4 separate regions of the Homo sapiens genome follow, and regions 2, 3 and 4 are each linked to region 1. The links are contacts of gene promoters, found by promoter capture Hi-C in human tissues and cell types (Jung and others, 2019). All regions are on one chromosome and are shown on one strand. Each heading gives the region's core, a stretch centred on a gene start or on the middle of the fragment in contact. The rest is flanking DNA. Distances are from core to core; before and after follow the strand shown.

Region 1 (2,700 bases), core at 182-2,681:
AAGAAAACAATACGATTTGGACCCTGGGAACAATCTGCCCATCTGAGGCTGGGGCCGTGTCCCGGCGGACTCCGGCTTTCCCTGGCCCCTCTCCTGCCCCCTCCGCCCTGCCCCGGGCGCCCCGATCGGGAGGCACAGCCCTCCCAGGCTGCCCACCGCACAGAAACCCAGGAAGCAAGGCCCTTTCCTGAGCGCCCAAGTGGCCTTCGGGTCACCCTCCCTCAAAGTTCCAGCCCCGAGAGCCGCCTCCCGTTTCCAGCCTGCAGGGTTGGGGAGCCTGTTTTCTTTTTCTTCCCTTTCCTTCTCTCTCCCTCCTGCCCCCAAAATTCAGAATCCTGCAGGCTCTCGCCTCGATTCTTTCCCCCAAGCCCCTTTTCGGGGGCTGTAATTAGTAACGCTGTTTCCCCAGCGTAGCCCTCCTCATAAATTATCCGCCGTGACAAGCCCGATTCACGGCTGCTACAGCCATCCTCTACCTCTCTGCGCCTTGCTCGGCTGGCCTGACCCGGGAGCGCGTCCCAAGGCGTGGGGTTCCAGAGGGGTTTTTTGCTTCCTCCCCCTTCCAACGTCTAAACTGTCCCAGAGAACGCCCATTTCCCCCACTATTTGTGAGCGCAGGGTGCTCGCAAAGAAGAGGAGGAAGGAGGAAGGCAGGGGAGGGAGAACGGCAAGGAGAGCTCCGCAGGGCTGGGAGAAATGAGACCAAGAGAGACTGGGAGAGGGCGGCAGAGAAGAGAGGGGGGACCGAGAGCCGCGTCCCCGCGGTCGCGTGGATTTAGAAAAAGGCTGGCTTTACCATGACTTATGTGCAGCTTGCGCATCCAGGGGTAGATCTGGGGTTGGGCGGGCGGCGCCGGGCTCGGCTCGCTCTGCGCACTCGCCTGCTCGCTGCTGGCAGGGGCGTCCTCCTCGGCTCCGGACGCCGTGCCAACCCCCTCTCTGCTGCTGATGTGGGTGCTGCCGGCGTCGGCCGAGGCGCCGCTGGAGTTGCTTAGGGAGTTTTTCCCGCCGTGGTGGCTGTCGCTGCCGGGCGAGGGGGCCACGGCGGAGCAGGGCAGCGGATCGGGCTGAGGAGAGTGCGTGGACGTGGCCGGCTGGCTGTACCTGGGCTCGGCGGGCGCCGCGCTGGCGCTGGCAGCGTAGCTGCGGGCGCGCTCTCCGGAGCCAAAGTGGCCGGAGCCCGAGCGGCCGACGCTGAGATCCATGCCATTGTAGCCGTAGCCGTACCTGCCGGAGTGCATGCTCGCCGAGTCCCTGAATTGCTCGCTCACGGAACTATGATCTCCATAATTATGCAACTGGTAGTCCGGGCCATTTGGATAGCGACCGCAAAATGAGTTTACAAAATAAGAGCTCATTTGTTTTTTGATATGTGTGCTTGATTTGTGGCTCGCGGTCGTTTGTGCGTCTATAGCACCCTTGCACAATTTATGATGAATTATGGAAATGACTGGGACATGTACTTGGTTCCCTCCTACGTAGGCACCCAAATATGGGGTACGACTTCGAATCACGTGCTTTTGTTGTCCAGTCGTAAATCCTGCCTGATGACCTCTAGAGGTAAACTCGTGCACTAATAGGGGAGTTGGGTGGAGGCGAGGGGGGTGGCGCGCGCGCCCCGGGCGCGTGCCCGCCGCCAGTTGCCGCCGTTCAGCCGGACTCGAGCGCCACCCGCTGGAGGCAGGGCTCATCGCCCAGCTTCCGACCGGGGGCTGCAAGGGCCGGGGTCGAATTGAGGTTACAGCCCATTATGGCAAAATTATTGCATTTCCCTCGCAGTTCCATTAGGATGTACCAATTGTTAGGCCGTCAGCTGCCGATCGCGCGCCCGGCGAGGATGCAGAGGATTGGGGGGAGGTGGTGACTTGCATTTTATTTACAACAACTTTATTTCCCCCGTTTTGCAGCCCCTCTTATTTTTGTGTCGAGGTTGGGGTCGGTACTGACCGTCCTGCCAGCAGCTCTGAATTTTGAAAATACAGATATCACCTTCGGGGAAGGGGGAAAGCCATTTAGCCAATTGGAGAAATAAATCCTGCCCGCAGCAGCAGCAGCTACAATTACGGCTCTGTTTTTGCGAGCGCATGAGGGACAGTGTCCCTGCCGCTCTTAAATGACAGGCGTCTATTAAAGATAGCTTTTGTGTAGTGTTTCTCCAAGGCGAGGTCAAATTCCATACACTTTTATAACCGTAGTCGATTTTTCTTTCGTGTGAATATGGTTTTCGTGTCATTAGTTTGCGATTTGATTTGCTTACGTATCCAGCCTGGAAAATCTTCATCACAGGGTCCGGTTCCTCGAGCCAGCCGGGCCCCAAGTCGGAGGGTTCTCCTTGAACCCAGCGAGTGGGCCCAGGCTCCCTGCAGCCACAGAGGCTGCCTGGGGTCTGGGGATCCGTGGGGCGGGTTACTGGGGTCTTGCTTAGACCTCCAGGAGTAAAATGAGGGCGATAATGGAAGCATTCCTTGGCAGTGCCTAGTATCTCTGTAGTTATTTTCCACGGCTCCGAAAGACTCAAGTAAATCACAAATATAGCTGAGAGGCAAGTGGAGTCTCCCCGCTGGAGGCCCGGCGTTGCAGGCGCCCCTGGCACGTCTGGAAGCCAGGACTCTGGCGGCTCCCATGGCCCTGGGCCCCTCGTTGGGTCCTGAACGCTGCTGTGGCGGCGACGCGGGCGCTATCGGAGGCTGGGAGCGGGAA
Region 2 (2,807 bases), core at 41-2,540, 1.1 Mb before region 1:
AACAAAGCTTCACAGCCTGTTACAGCTTTGGACTTGGCCCAGGCTCATGCCCATCTCCAAAGCGGTCAAGTCCTATTTGTCCTATAAGAAGCACCTGCTGGCCAGGAGCAGTGGCTCACACTTGTAATCCCAGCACTTTGAGGGGCCAAGGCAGACAGATCACGAGGTCAGGAGTTCGAGACCAGCCTGGCCAACACAGTGAAACCCTGTCTCTACTAAAAATATGAAAATTAGCTGGGCGTGGTGGCGGGAGCCTGTAATCCCAGCTACTTGGGAGGCTGAGGCAGGAGAATCGCTTGAACCCGAGAGGCAGAGGTTGCAGTAAGCTGAGATCGTACCGCTGCACTCCAGCCTGGGTGACAGAGCGAGACTCCACCTCAAAAAAAAAAGATGCACCCGCCGTTGACAACCTCCCCAGGCTTCTCATCTATGAGTCATCCACCCTCCCCAAACTCCTCACCATTTATACATGCCTCCCTCGAGACCCTCATCCCTGTGTCCATTCAATTTTAGCAGTTTATGTACACGTCATATCCTCTTTTCAATCAGAAGTAACTCGAGGGCCCTCGCATTTTGGCTCGTATATACTAAGTACTCAGTAAACACCTTGGAAAATGAGTGAATGGCTGTTTAATACCTATTAAAATACAGAGACCAAACGTACACTCGCCCCTCCGGATCTCACTTGGGGAGCAGTGCCTTTGTGCTCAGGAGGGCTGCCATGTTCCTAAATACTTCGGAATACACAGAATTCTGGTATGCTTTCTAGAGACCAGATATACCCAAGCTTCAGCCCAATTTCAGTTTTTAAAAACAGGATCAAGAGGGCCAGATGTGGTGGCGCATGCCTGTGATCCCAGCATTTTGAGAGGCCTTGGAGGGCAGATCACCTGAGGTCAGGAGTTCGAAACCAGCCTGTCCAAAATGGTGAAACCCCATCTCTACTAAAAATACAAAAATTAGCTGGGTGTGGTGGTGCACACCTGTAATCACAGCTACTCAAGAGGCTGAGGCACAAGAGTGGCTTCAACCTGGGAGGCAGAGGTTGCATTGAGCTGAGATTTTACCACTGAACTCCAGCCTGGGTGACAGAGTGAGACTCTGTTTCAAAAAAAAAAAAAAAAACAAAACAAAACAAAAAACAGGATCAAGATTTACGCCTTCCTGAAGAAGTTGAGTCTGGGGTCACAGTCATTAGTATCATGCTTCATAATGACCTTAAGCCTCTTTCAAGTGTGTGATATTCTATTAGGTTGATGCAAAAGTAATTGCGGTTTTTGCCATTCTTTTTTTTTTAAAAAAAAGGCAAAAACCGCAATTACTTTTGCATCAACCTAATATATGCACAGTTTCATAAGCTCTCTGAGGGCAGGACTTCTGTCTATTCTGTTGATGTTATTGTTACCCACACACACTACCTTGTAAGGAAGTCTGCCCACACTGGGCAAACATTAACTATTGACTAAGCGTATCATTTTATTTTAACACAATTAGGAAGCCCTGCATTCCAAGGAACCCCTTTAGCCAAAAGCTGCTGAGTTAGGTCACCAGACTCAGCACACACCTTTTCTAATCTGCTTCTTCAGTCCCTATGAGCCATACAATGCATTCTCTCCTGCCTAGAGTTGGCAATTTCAATTATTTCTTTTCCAGAAAGAAATAAAAGTGTCTGGACTGAAATAGATTTCCCTGTTTGGAAACTAATGCAGTGAGGGGTCTATTTGTTACAAACACTGATAGGCAGCCTTCTCCACAGAGGTGAGCCGTCCTTTCCCATGGGCTCCTCTTTGCTCCTTCCTCTACAGGAATCCATCTACTCTGGTTCATGTACAGAAGGTTACTGTGGTTTTTCCAGGAAACTGCTGCCTGATGAGGGAGGCAAATTTTCTGTGTACAAATTTGAGGACCATTTGTGCAGAAACAGACATAAGTAACAGAATATAAGCCATATTAATGTTTTTATGACTATACTTGGGCCTTCTCAACAATGGTTAAGTGTTGCCAAACTAGCTTTACTTAGTGTTGGCAGGACAGGAGCTGTAATATATAGTTCTTTTTGTCTTGGCAATAAGTCTGGCACTCCTGCCAGAATCTACTCTAAAGGAAATGAACCAGAGACAATAAGTCCATTCAAATGCACTAGCGATTTCTTCCAGCAGGGATTTTTCAATTTCTAAGTTGATACAAATTTTAAAACCACCTATTTTAAGTAGGGAGTGGGAGTTTTATTTTCCAAAAGAAGATGTTATATTTACCAATGTATTTCTGACATCTGTCCGCAACAAGAAATATTATAGTGCCAGGTAATTGAGAAGGTGTCAGAACAAAACAAACATAAAACAAACAAAAACAGAGAGAGATGTATTCCTTTCAAAAGGATGTAAACACAAAATATAATTGATGGGCTTCATTCAGTCAGCCGTTTAATTTGCGGTGTTTAAGTACTTACATAAAATGACATTACTGCTGTGCTATTGTCTCGCTGGTTCCATGCATTTTATTTATGACCATGTGTCTTTGTGAGTGAATAAAAAAATGTGGAGTTGCTAGCAGCAAACCTTACACATTTCAAAACCCAAAACCAAGAAATCCTTGAAGGACCACCTATAAAAAAAAACTTTGTTAACACAAGGTTCAATATTTGCCTGGGTTGGCACAATCCTACTTGGAGGGGAAAAAGGAGGCGGATTTTTCTGGCTTTAGGAGGCGGGATTTCAGGTAAACCACTGTGAAGGTGCCTGTCTACGCCTCTGAATTCTAGAGCCTAGAGCCCCCTGCTGGCTGAAGGAGGAAGAGACCTGAATGGA
Region 3 (2,700 bases), core at 161-2,660, 1.2 Mb before region 1:
AATTGGAAAACAGTTGTACAATACTTCATTCTAAAGGAAGAAGAGCCATAAAAAGAGAAAAAAAAAATAAGAAGAAACCCTGCATTTTAGATCTTCCTAGAAATAGCAAGTTGCTCCAGGAAAAGACCAAACCAGGTGATAAAGGTTTGTGTCACCATTTCAAAAAGAATAAAGAAAAGGGCAGTACAGACACTGCATTATCAGACGCCACCATTATAATTTGTGGATCTCACACATCAATATGTAAATAACAGAGGCCAAGCTATTTCCTCCGCAGGTTGCCTGTAAATTGAAGTAAAAACTGTATTACTAAAGCCAGGCAAGCTAGAACAACACAGATTATAAGTCAAACAATGATATGAGTTCATTTAACACTGAGAAAACAAGCGTTTCTAGATAACTACATATCATGCAAGACAAACAATTCTAGAAACGGGAAATAAATGGGTGAGGCAAAATGAAAAGGAAGAAAATTGGATGAAATTCATCAGGACTAAAAATATTGGCAGTTTCAGGGTAGAGGTATTAGCTGAGCAATAAGGTGAGAGAAATTGCCACAAGTCTACATTGCCTGCACTCGGAGGGAGGCCACAGGGAGTGCCTGTTAAGAGCTCTGACTGGCTTCAAACTGCCTTGGCTGGATTTTGGTGGTAGCAGTGGGTGGCCTTGGCCAAATTTTCCAAGCCCTGATTTTCTTATCACTAAGGTAGACAGCTTCTACCTCATAAGGATGCTATGAGGATGAAATGCAAAAAAAACAAAGTAAATAAAGGGCCTAGCCCAGTGTCTAGTACATTTGTATGTGCTCATTAATCGTTAGCAATAGTAAGTGAACTTCAAAAGATTAAGAAAAGCCAGATGGCCAGTTGAGAAACAGGAACAGGAATTAGATATTGTTACTAATCGTCTGTGATAAACTCTGTAGTTCATGTTAACACACACACACAAAAAAACACAAAAATTTGCTTCTATGAACCATTTTTAAAAGGCTCTAGGCCAGGCGTGGTGGCTCATGCTTATAATCCCAGCACTTTGGGAGGCCGAGGCGGGGAGATGGCTTGAGCCTAGGAGTTCAAGACCAGCCTGGGCAACATGGTGAAAACCCATCTCTACAAAAAATACAAAAATTAGCCGGGCATGGTGGTGTGCACTGTGGTCCCAGCTACTTGGGAGGCTGAGGTGAGAGAATCACCTGAGCCCAGGAGGTCTAGGCTACAGCGACCTGTGATGATGCCACTGCACGCCAGCCTGGGTGACAGAGTGAGACCTTGTCTCAAAATAATAATAATAATAATAATAAATAAGATAAAGTGCTCTAAATTTTAAATGTAAAGTGTTATAAAATCGGTGTGCAAGTTTCCAGTATAGAGTCTAGTTACTGAAGCAGATATTTAATTTATCATGACAAGACATATTGCCAAACTGAGACTGTTGGCCATGGCTGTGTGTCCACTGGCAACTTTAAGGGATGTGAGATCAGGCTGCCTGGGCATCCAGTTATGCTGTCTCTGATTGGAGGTGAACTGCATTCTTTCGAGTGGTGAGCATATAGACCTACTCTCCATGATTTGGCAGAAAATAATAAAATTTGATTTATATTTGTCAAATGTATTCCCTTGATAATGGCTGGACACCAAAATATCGTTTTCTGAGTTTTCTTTTCAAGAATTTGGCTTTGGAATATGGAAATTCCCATGATTGAGAGTCCACTCAGCAAGAACTAATGAGCCCTGAATAATGATCACCCTCCGAGAGTTCCCCTCCACCATGTTCATAAAACCCCTCCAGTTGGCGATGGCTTCCACTGCCTTTTAGTCAGAATTCAGCCTGTCTTTATGGACCTTTTTTGACTTCATAATTTCTCCAGGTTGTATTTTTAAAAGTCTTATTCACCTACAAAATGAACCAACAGATAAGCATCTTTTCCTTTTCAAAAGCAAGTCTGGTCTCTTTGTTCACAAATTCCAAATATACTAGTCCTAGAAATTATGCATGGGCAAGATTTGTACTTCCAGAGAATTTTACTTTCAAACAAGGTGAACTGTCAAACTGTGAATGCAGCTTGTGGAGTGAATGTCTCCCCGAGAAGGAGGCTCCTTTCCTTGAGGGGAAGGGAAGTGGCTGGTCTGGGGCTTTCTCATTGGCCCCTGGATGCGGTTTTGCACCTCTGGTTAGAGGCTGGCTGCTTTGTCTTGTCAGAGAGACGTATCATCTGTTTTAATGCTGACCTGTAATGTTTTATTCACATTGTAAATCTTTTATCGCCTGTGACTCCTGTGAGATTTCCCCTTTTGTTATTATTTTTTTTCTTATTGGTATTGATTCTCAATTTTGCCAAAGGGTTAGGAAACCTACTGCCCTGTTGGCATGATTGCAAAGAATCTGACTGCTGTTTTCCTCCCCACAAAAGAAGTATCTGTAGCCATTTAATTACGTAGTTTATTTTTAAAGCATGAATGAAAGAACCAGGGATCATCTTTCACTTAAATTCAGCTCAGCATGTTCTCAGAACATTAAACATTCTCAATTCTTTCAGTTATTGAAACGGGTGTCCTTGTCTGAAAGCAAATGAGTGCATTTGGTTTTACCCAGTCTAATGTCACAGATTTTATTGTATGCTGTTTTCTTTTGTCAGCTAGAAATAGAGTCCATAACCTCAAACACTGTCAAAAAGAAATAAATATACTCCGTGGGAAAAAT
Region 4 (2,700 bases), core at 70-2,569, 1.4 Mb before region 1:
TTTTTTATGTAACGCTCTGAATCTATAGTGAACAAAAGCAACTGTTGAGAACTCTGCAAAAAAACTGCCCAGCAATTTTAAGTTAATGGGCAAGATTAATGGATTGTCATATAATGTGAAGGGAAAGTATTAGAAAGAAATGAAAGTGGCTAGACAAAATTGGTTTGGAATTGGAGTCTACCTGAAGGCCCCTCAGCAAGAACATTACTGTCTGCTGTATTTTCAGCTAAGCAGTGTATTAATTTGAAAGCCATGCCTCGTACGGATACCCAGCACTTAGTGGTTGGTTTTATGTTTAAAATGCTTAGTATGAAACCTGTGCTGAAAATTTGCCCAAACATCTCACAGTTGATTGCAAACCCGAGTGCCTGGGGGCTCTGAGTCCACACCTCAAGAATGCTGGAGTGGGGGGACTTTCTGGCTCCACACCTGGGTTTGTCAAGGCCTCTTCGGGCTGCTGGGAATGTGCCCTGCCTGGGGCCCGCTGCTCTCCTCATCAGCCCTCTGACAGATTAAAACACAACAGGGTCTGTTGCCTGACTGACACATTCCTCTCCTGTCTGCCTCTGAAAGGACTTTATTTAACAGTCCTGGAGTCGGGCTTTGACTGACAGATTGTGAAGGGTAAAAGTCATTCAGTTCCATTAAGCTCTGTAACTGCCCTGGAACAAAACACCTTCCAAAAAAAGTGTCGGAGGGAGGGGAAAATAGAGCTGTGGAGAGTGGGGGCATGAGCTTTCGGGAGAAAAAAAGGGGGTTTCTTTTCAGGTTCAAAAACAATCCTCCTCTTTGCCTTCTGTCTATCAATTAGGGCGGCATTCCCAGAGGGAATACAGGCCCGGCCTCATTGGTGTCATTCAGCTGCCAATCTCCTGACAGAGACACCAAAGGGCCTCATGTAGCGCTGCGGAAACTGTCTGTCAGGCCATCAGCAGCTGCTATGACGACATCGCCTCTGTTTTTCTAGGACTCTTATGGAGGGGGGAGTTCACCCCAACAGAGTCTCAGAGTCTCGACTCCAAACCTCTGTTCATATTTTCCTTTTACAACCCATCCCCAGTGTGAATTTCTTCACAAAAACAACCCCCGGCTCCCTTGCCTGGCTCGGCTACGAGGTAAATAATAGCTTGCCAGCCAAGGACATGGTCTTGGGTGTGAGAAAGGGGTTCTGCTTCTGGGAAAAACCGAGTCGTGACTGAACACATTCAACGACTCTGGCTCAGATGAGTCCAAAGAAACCCGATTTGCAGTGAAAGGTCTCCATCCACCGAAAGGCCTGCACAGGCCGCGTGTGAAGAGCAGTGTGGCCCCACAGACGGCCTCCTGCTCAGCCTTAACCTTGTTTGGGTTGCTGTGGGTTTCATTCCCCTGGAGTTTTGCTTGGAGCCTGAAGGCTCAAGCACAGCTCAACACTTTAAGCCAAACTCAGCACCAAGCAACCACTTCCCACTGCTCTGTTTTTCTGCCTTGCTCCCCGCTTTCCCCAAGGCCTGACTTACACGGCTGCCTTGAGTTTGCCCCAAAGATTCCTCAGCCTCAGCTGATCACACAGAAGACCCAAGAGTACAAAGGAAGGGCCCGTTTACCCGAGCTTTCTGGCTGGACTGGGGAAAATATCTTTACCCCCTCCCTGCCCTCAACTCCCTCCTGTCCACTCCAGATTCTGCCTAAGACTTGGGGAGGCAGATCCGGGCCACCAATGGCCACCTGCAAAGATAGTGGTTGTCTCTGCATTCTGTAAAGGCTGTGTTTGTGATTCCTGGCATTTCCCTGGAAGTGTTTTCACATTACAGGGAGCTGCTTCCAAATGGTAATGATAGCACTTTGTACCAAACTGAGAGCTGGAGCAAGTTGCTGCCAAGCCCCCATGGTCGGGCCATCGTGTTGCAACGCTTCTGCTTCTATTACAGTTCTTCACATGTTCCACCCGAACCGTACAAAATGTTTAGCCAAACCCTGTAAGAACATGTACATAAAGCTGTCTCCATGCTGCCAAGGTGGTAAAGTCGATCTTTTTTCTTCCTTAAGTCTGAAAGCTCTGCTAAGGTCCAACACTTCCTGAGCATAAACTCCATCTGGGGTGGCTAAAATCTGTCTACAGGGCAATATACTGATTTTAGACACCCAGATGCTGGGCCTTGGATATGCACTACCTAAATGAAGACACTGCCTGGGGAAATTCAGAATTAACTAGATTTTTGGCACTGGGAGTATATGCAGAGAGGAGCAAATGGACAGGATGATGCGAGGGAGAGAGAGGTTGATGTGATTGTCACCTTCCTGCTCTGCAGCCTCAGGAAGACACACTCAGAAGCCAGCCCTTTGCCATCTGCATGGATAGAAATGGCAACAGTCATGGGAGGCACTGATAGTTCACTAATGAGTGAATATTTCCACATTGCTTTGCAGGTCTTTGGTTATTGCAGCACATTTTCATTACTGAAGCAGAGAAGAAACCAACCTAAGGAATTGGGCAGGCCACCAGGGATATACACAAAGTGCTCTCACCTCCTGGGGCATCACCAAAAAGAGACTTTAGTCGCTGGATCAAAGGCTATTGGGAACATTTCACTCAGGATGAATTATCTTGAAAACACCACCTGGAGTAGCCCCAAATAAGCAGATGCTTTGGAGCTCCTGGATGCTGAGTGGTGGCACAGATTCCCATCCTGGGGCTCCGTGTCACCATCCAATGTCTGG

Evidence for each region. Contacts are between HindIII fragments. The study calls those that stand out against the background at their distance.
Region 2: a fragment that was not itself captured here is called in contact with the fragment with the promoter of HOXA5 in region 1 in 1 of the 25 tissues and cell types used here (spleen).
Region 3: a contact is called between a fragment that was not itself captured here and the fragment with the promoter of HOXA5 in region 1, in 1 of the 25 tissues and cell types used here (spleen).
Region 4: a contact is called between a fragment that was not itself captured here and the fragment with the promoter of HOXA5 in region 1, in 1 of the 25 tissues and cell types used here (dorsolateral prefrontal cortex).

Annotation. Positions count from the first base shown.
Region 1 is chr7:27,142,250-27,144,949 of GRCh38, forward strand. HOXA5 (homeobox A5) reads right to left here and starts at 1,432. Exons shown (of 2, transcript NM_019102.4): 1 at 797-1,432. The coding sequence starts at 1,358. All of the region lies in intron 1 of HOXA3 (homeobox A3), which reads right to left. The region is part of intron 1 of HOXA-AS3 (HOXA cluster antisense RNA 3); the gene reads left to right. The HindIII fragment of the contact is 16,485 bases long and covers 1-2,700 here.
Region 2 is chr7:26,059,094-26,061,900 of GRCh38, forward strand. LOC105375199 (a long non-coding RNA gene) reads right to left here. Exons shown (of 7, transcript XR_927114.3): 3 at 2,450-2,604. Among named protein-coding and RNA genes, the nearest start is that of NFE2L3, 92 kb to the right of the region's middle. The HindIII fragment of the contact is 5,839 bases long and covers 1-2,807 here.
Region 3 is chr7:25,911,624-25,914,323 of GRCh38, forward strand. No RefSeq gene overlaps it. Among named protein-coding and RNA genes, the nearest start is that of MIR148A, 37 kb to the right of the region's middle. The HindIII fragment of the contact is 6,078 bases long and covers 1-2,700 here.
Region 4 is chr7:25,752,657-25,755,356 of GRCh38, forward strand. All of the region lies in intron 1 of LINC03007 (long intergenic non-protein coding RNA 3007), which reads right to left. Among named protein-coding and RNA genes, the nearest start is that of LINC03007, 36 kb to the right of the region's middle. RefSeq lists an enhancer at 1-2,006. The HindIII fragment of the contact is 5,038 bases long and covers 1-2,700 here.